Linked DNA regions of Homo sapiens: region 1 is linked to region 2. Evidence: promoter capture Hi-C in 16 types of primary human blood cells and fetal thymus (Javierre and others, 2016). All regions are on one chromosome and are shown on one strand. Each heading gives the region's core, a stretch centred on a gene start or on the middle of the fragment in contact. The rest is flanking DNA. Distances are from core to core; before and after follow the strand shown.

The links. The method cuts DNA at HindIII sites, captures the fragments that hold promoters and counts their contacts. A CHiCAGO score of 5 or more calls a contact.
Region 1: a fragment that was not itself captured here is called in contact with the fragment with the promoter of FAM186B in region 2 in 3 of 17 cell types (endothelial precursors, M2 macrophages and M1 macrophages); the score reaches 8.3 in endothelial precursors.

The regions. Positions count from the first base shown.
Region 1 is chr12:49,358,749-49,362,100 of GRCh38, forward strand. No RefSeq gene overlaps it. Among named protein-coding and RNA genes, the nearest start is that of SPATS2, 7.0 kb to the right of the region's middle. The HindIII fragment of the contact is 5,412 bases long and covers 1-3,352 here.
Region 2 is chr12:49,604,306-49,607,401 of GRCh38, forward strand. It overlaps FAM186B (family with sequence similarity 186 member B), which reads right to left and starts at 1,334. Exons shown (of 7, transcript NM_032130.3): 1 at 1,077-1,334; 2 at 8-233. The coding sequence starts at 1,172. The HindIII fragment of the contact is 1,733 bases long and covers 603-2,335 here.

The sequences.
Region 1 (3,352 bases), core at 239-2,738, 250 kb before region 2:
TCTTAGTTTTCTTTTCTCTTGAACAGTGGGGTGGTCCTAACAAGCCTGGAGACGTGTGGTTTGTTGTAGTCTTAGCTAGGAACTGCAGATGGCGCTACAAGGCTGTCATGGTAAAATATGTCCCTCGGCTGTCCCCTTCACTTAAAAAAAAATGTGGTAGTGGCACCTCCATAGCAGGTTCATTACCAGAGTTCAGTCCTCTCCTTTTGCTGAGAAGGAGCAAGCAACTGTGAAGTTGGATTTGGGGTGTTATTCAAAGCAAGCTCCAACTGAAGCATGCTTTTCAGTTGTCATTTAATCTCCTAGGGGAATCTAGAGCTGTCTATTTCATGTTAGAACTTTGAACGCACATCTCATGCCAGTGCTTTGGCTTTTGAAGTTCCCACCCTGAGAAGGTGATTTAAAATGTTTTTCTTTTGCTTCATGTTCCCTGCAGTATTTCTGTTAGTCGCCTCAAGGGATTAAAAGTTGTTCAACTGTTTTGTTTTGTTTTGTTTTGTTTTTGCTAAGATGAGTTTTGAGCAATAAAAGTAAAAAATTTATGTAGGGTTCCAGCTAAAGATACTTCATTTCAATAATTTGTTCTCTCTTTTCTTTCTTATTCTTCTTTTTCCCCACCTCTCATTCACCCTTTCCATAGTCCATCTGGTTATTTGCAAACTATTATGACTCTAAGCAAGGATCTTGGACTTTCTGGGTTTAAACGTTACTGACAAGTTTCAACAGAACAAAGCAGTAAAACAGTGCCCTGTATGGGAAACTTGGAAGGGAATCTTTTTTTTTTTTTTTTGAGACGGAGTTTCGCTCTTGTTGCCCAGGCTGGAGTGCAATGGCACCATGTCAGCTCACCACAATCTCCACCTCCCGGGTTCAAGCGATTCTCCTGCCTCAGCCTCCTGAGTAGCTGGGATTACAGGCATGTACCACCACACCCAGCTAATTTTGTATTTTTAGTAGAGACGGGGGTTTCTCCATTTTGGTCAGGCTGGTCTCGAACTCCCAACCTCAGGTGATCTGCTCGCCTTGCCCTCCCAAAGTGTTGGGATTACAGGCCACCACTCCCAGCCCAGAAGGGAATCTTTTAACCCATTCTGTGCCAGACCTCAGTCCCAATTCTGGGTTGAGAAATGTTGTGGGGAACATCTGCTGGGCAGTGACTGAGTCAGCATGTGAGCCTGGCTTTGCAAGCAACACCTAAAAGGGCATTTTTCCTAGAATCAATGGCTCAGGCACATTTCAGGTGAATTAGTACCAGAAAAGGAACGGGAGCTGGGTGTGATGATGGGCGGAGGCGGGGGGATCACTTGAGCCCGGGAGTTTGAGGCTACAGTGAGTTATGATTCTGCCACTGTACTCCAACCTAGGCAACAGAGCAAGCCCCTGCCTCAAATAAATAAATAAGAAATTTATTAATCTGTCTCAAGAGTGGGGAAAAAAAAGGCCAGGCATAGTGGCTGATGCCTATAATCCTAGCACTTTTGAGAGGCTAAGGCAGGAGGATCACTTGAACCCAGTGGGGAAGATTGCTTGAGTTTGAGACCGGCCTGGGCAACATGGGGAGACCCCATCTCTATAAAAAAAAAAAAATTAGCCAGGCCTGGTGGCTCACACCTGTAGTCCAAGCCACTGGGAAGGCTGCAATGGGAGGACCAGTTGAGCCTGGGAGCTGGAGGCTGCAGTGAGCAATGATCCCATCACTGCACTCCAACCTGGGCAACAGAGTGAGAACCCTGTCTCTTAAAAAAAAAAAAAGGAATGGGGCTTGGCGCCGGTGACTAACGCCTGTAATCCCAGCACTTTGGGAGGCCAAGGCAGGTGGATCACGAGGTCAAGAGATTGAGACCATCCTGGCCAACATGTGAAACCCCGTCTCTACTAAAACTTCAAAAAAATTAGCTGGGCATGGTGGCGCACCTGTAGTCCCAGCTACTTGGGAGGCTGAGGCAGGAGAATCGCTTGAACCCGGGAGGTGGAGGTTGCCGTGAGCTGAGATCGCGCCACTGCACTCCAGCCTGGGTGACAGTGCGAGACTCTGTCTCAAAAAAAAAAGAAAAGAATGGGAAGGGGTTGTGGGACATAAAACGTCTTTGGTTCAGGTGTTTCCCAGTCACAGATCTGAGGGCCACTGAGGCTTGTTTTACTCCCCCACCCCTCCTTCCATATCCTTACCCACTTTAGACGTGGTTTCTCTTGCTTTTTCCTCCCTTTCCCTCCCATGAACCACAGGAGAGAGTGTACGTTTAATATTCAGTAAATTTGATATTCAGTGCCTGCAAACTTACTTCGTCTTAGCAGTTGACTTTTCTTGCACAGCCAAGATGACTGATCATTTCAGACCCATCTCCCTTCAGGCTCTAATTCTTCTCCATCAATGTGTTTGTTTTGATATTTCTGCCTTTGGTTGATGTTCTTCTTCTTTCCTATAATTATTTTTCCTCTCTGCTAAATCTTTTTTTTTTTTTTTTTTTGAGATGGAGTTTCGCTCTTGCCCAGGCTGGAGTGCAGTGGTGTGATCTTGGCTCATTGCAACCTCCGCCTCCTGGGTTCAAGTGATTCTTGTGCCTCAGCCTCACGAGTAGCTGGGATTATAGGCGCCCGCCACCACGCCAGGCTAATATATTTGTATTTTTTGTAGAGACAGGATTTCATCATATTGGCCAGGCTGGTCTCGAACTCCTGACCTCAGGTGAGCCACCGGCCTCAGCCTCCCAAAGTGCTGGGATTACAGGCATTAACCACCATGCCTAGCCTTGCTAATACAAATCTTTACACTTCTTTTATGACCTAGCTTAAGGTTTATCCCTAAATGATGCCTTTGCTGATTAATTCCACCTCTAGTAATCTTTGCCCTTTGAATTCCTTCTGTATTCCCATCTAGTTTGTACTGTTCTATCAATAAGTTTCTTGCATGTTGCCATATAAATTGTTCTCTGTCTCATGTTTGCAAGTCTTCTCTTCTTAACTATACCAAAGCTGCTTGAGGGCAAGTGACTGTGTCTTCTCCTAATGTAAATAGCAGGACATTTATTAAATGTGCAACCTAGGTAAATTATTGAAAAATTTTGAGCTTCAGTTTCCTCATTTGTTACATGAGGACAATGATGCCTGCACCACACAATGTTCAGACAATCAAATGAGACAATGTGTACAGAGTGCTTTATGAAGTATAAAACATTTGACAGAAGTGAAGCATACTATTTTTTTAAAGTGGTGACAGAATCTATAAATGAAAGATAATTTAAAAACTTAATAAAAGAACTTAGAGTACAGCAATATTAGTTACTATCTTACACATAGGACAAATTCACTTAATATCAAAGTCAAGTCTTAATGAACCTGCAAGGCTCACATT
Region 2 (3,096 bases), core at 84-2,583:
AACTCACCCCAGTCACCCAGCCAGCGGAGAATGTCATACAGGTGCTTCTCCTTCATCATAGCATCTTTGGAGAAGGAGGCAATTTTTTCCAGCAAGATGAATCTCTTCTTGCCCTTTGGATCTCTCTGCTGAGATTTGGCATTTTCTTTTAAATCATATCCTAATTCTTCCTGGAAGCGGTTGATGACACAATTGACATTGTCCAAAATGTCTGAGAGCTGGGTAGAAATATCCTATAGAGAAGCAGCAGATTGTAGTGTTAGGGCTGTGGACTTGAGCCAGAAGCCACATGCTAGCAGCGTGACCTTGGACAAGTCGCTTAGCCTCTTTGGGTCTCAGTTTTCTTATATTTAAAGTGGGAATCATTATAGTACCTATGTCACAGGGTTTCTGTAAGGATTAAATGAATTAAATATTTTAAAGTGCTTTTAATAGTACCTGGCACATTACACAAAAGTGGTAGCTTTTATTATCATTGTGATTATTAAGAAGGTCAAGAAAGTATAGAACACCAAAACCCCACAGCAAACATTTCTTTAGAATTTCAGAGGTTGCTGGGGGTTTCTGGATGTCTTTCCTCACAAGGATCCACAGGCAACAGAAGCTTGGAAAAGTGAGGCCCCAAGAAACTCTAGGATCAGAGGCTCAAGTAAAAAATGTACTAGAGCCTCGTGTACAGGGTGATTTGAGCCTTTGGACATTTCCCCAACCCCTATGAACTTCCTGGGCTCAGCTTGGGGGATTCTGGAGGGTTGCCAAGAACAGATTCTGGGTCCTTTCTCCTGCCCTCTAAAACCCACCACACCACCACGATGTGCCTCAGGGCTATCCTCGAGCTTCCTGCCCCCTTCCCGGGCCCCAGCCCTGCCTCAGGCGGGTGGTTGCTTTCAGCTCACCCTGTATATGCCAAGTTTAGGAGAGAGATAATTTATACTAATCTGTCTGCAGACCCAGGTTGCTGAATATCCCAGGGCCTCTGAGGACCCAGAGCTGGAATCTCACTCAAACCTGGGATCAGCCCCCAGTCTCCGCATCAGATCCCAATGTAAGAGTGATTCCTTCATCTCAGGGGCTACCTCTTGAGCCCGAGTTAGCTGGGCAGCCTCAATCCTCAGGATGATGGCTTTCACTGATGTGGGAGTCACCAACTGTGGGGGGTCATCCTTCTCCATTTTGGATCACTCTGTCAGTCACAAAACATCCTGTGTTTCTGGTCCACAGGCCTGGACACACAATGTTGCCTGCTTTGGAGGTTAAGGGCACCAGGGTGTCTCCTGGGTACCCTCTGCCCAGGCACAGCTCCTCTGGTAACTGCCAAACACCAGGTTCCAACTGATCCTCTTTTCCCCAGTGACATCATCAGTTTGATTAGAAGAATTAGGAGATGAGACTCCCCACTATCTAGCTTTTTGTCCATTACCTAACATATATTTACTTGACTTGTTGCCTTTTCTTTTTTTTTTTTTTTTTTTGAGACGGAGTCTCCCTCTGTAGCCCAGGCTGGAGTGCAGTGGTGTGATCTCGGTCACTGCAACCTCCACTTCCTGGGTTCAAGTGATTCTCCTGGCTCAGCCTCCTGAGTAGCTGGGATTACAGGTGCGTGCCACCACGCCTGGCTAATTTATTTTTTGTATTTTTAGTAAAGACGGGGTTTCACTGTGTTAGCGAGGATGGTCTCGATCTCCTGACCTCGTGATCCACCCACCTTAGCCTCCCAAAGTGCTGGGATTACAGGTGTGAGCCACCGTGCCCGGCCTACTTGTTGCTTTTTAAAAATTACTAAATGTTATGCTCCCAAACAAAACATTAATGTCTACAAATAAGAAAAAGCAATTAGCAAAAGTTATTTTCCTGAATAAAATATTTTAAATTTGTAAAAATTAGAGCCAATCAATAACCAAATGGAAGCCAGGCTCAGTGGCTCACGCCTGTAATCCCAACAATTTGGGAGGCTGAGGTGGGAGGATCACTTGAGCCCAGGAGTTTGAGACCAGCCTGGGCAACATGGTGAGAGCCTAGCTCTACAAAAAAATTTAAAAAATAGCCAGGCATGGTGGCGCATGCCTGGGATCCCAACTACTTGAGAGGTTGAGATGGGAGGATCACTTGAGCCCAGGAGGTCAAGGCTGCAGTGAGCCATGTTCACGCCACTACACCCCAGCCTAGGTGATAGATACCCTGACACACACACACACACACACACACACACACACACACACACAAACATACAGAGGGAGGAACATCCCATAATGCTAAAGATGTCAATTAATAAGGAGAACATAATTCTAAATGTGTATATACCTAATAACATTGCTTCAAAATACATGAAGTAAAAAGCTTCCAGAACTGAAAGGAGGAATAGGTAAATCCAAAATTATAGTTGGAGATTCCAGCACTTCTCTTGCAGGAGTTGATAGAAGTAGCAAAAAATAAAAAGTATAGAGGTTTTGAAAAATACTATCAACCAACTTGACTCCATTGACAGTCATAGAACACTTCACCCAACAACAGGACACATATTATTCCCTACGCATATGGAACAATGATCATATAAACCATAATTTGGGCCATAAAACAAGTATCAATTACCCTAAGAAGTCTAAAATAATACAAAATATGTTCTCTGACCACTATGGTATTAAACTATAAATCAATAATTGAGAGATCTTTGGAAAATTCCCAAATATTTTACAAATTAAGCAACATACTTCCATATAACCCTGAGTCAAAAAAGAAATCACAGGGAAAGTTATGAAATACTTTGAACCGAGCAAAAATAGAAACATATCACAATTTTGAGGATGCTGCCAAATCAGTGCTTAGAGGAAAAAACTAGAAAAGGAAGAACAAAAAAACCCAAAATAAGCAGAAGGAAGGAAATAATAAGAATAAGAATAGAGACCAATAGAAAACAAACAAAAATAGAAGAAAATCAATGCAACTAAAATCTGATGTTTTGAAAAGATTAATGCAATTGATAAAACTCTAGCCATATTTACCAGGAAGAAAAGAGAGAAGACAAGCTAACAATATGAAGAATAAGAGACTACAGACTCTACAGTGGGAATAATATGAGAGAGCAATATGAAAAACCTT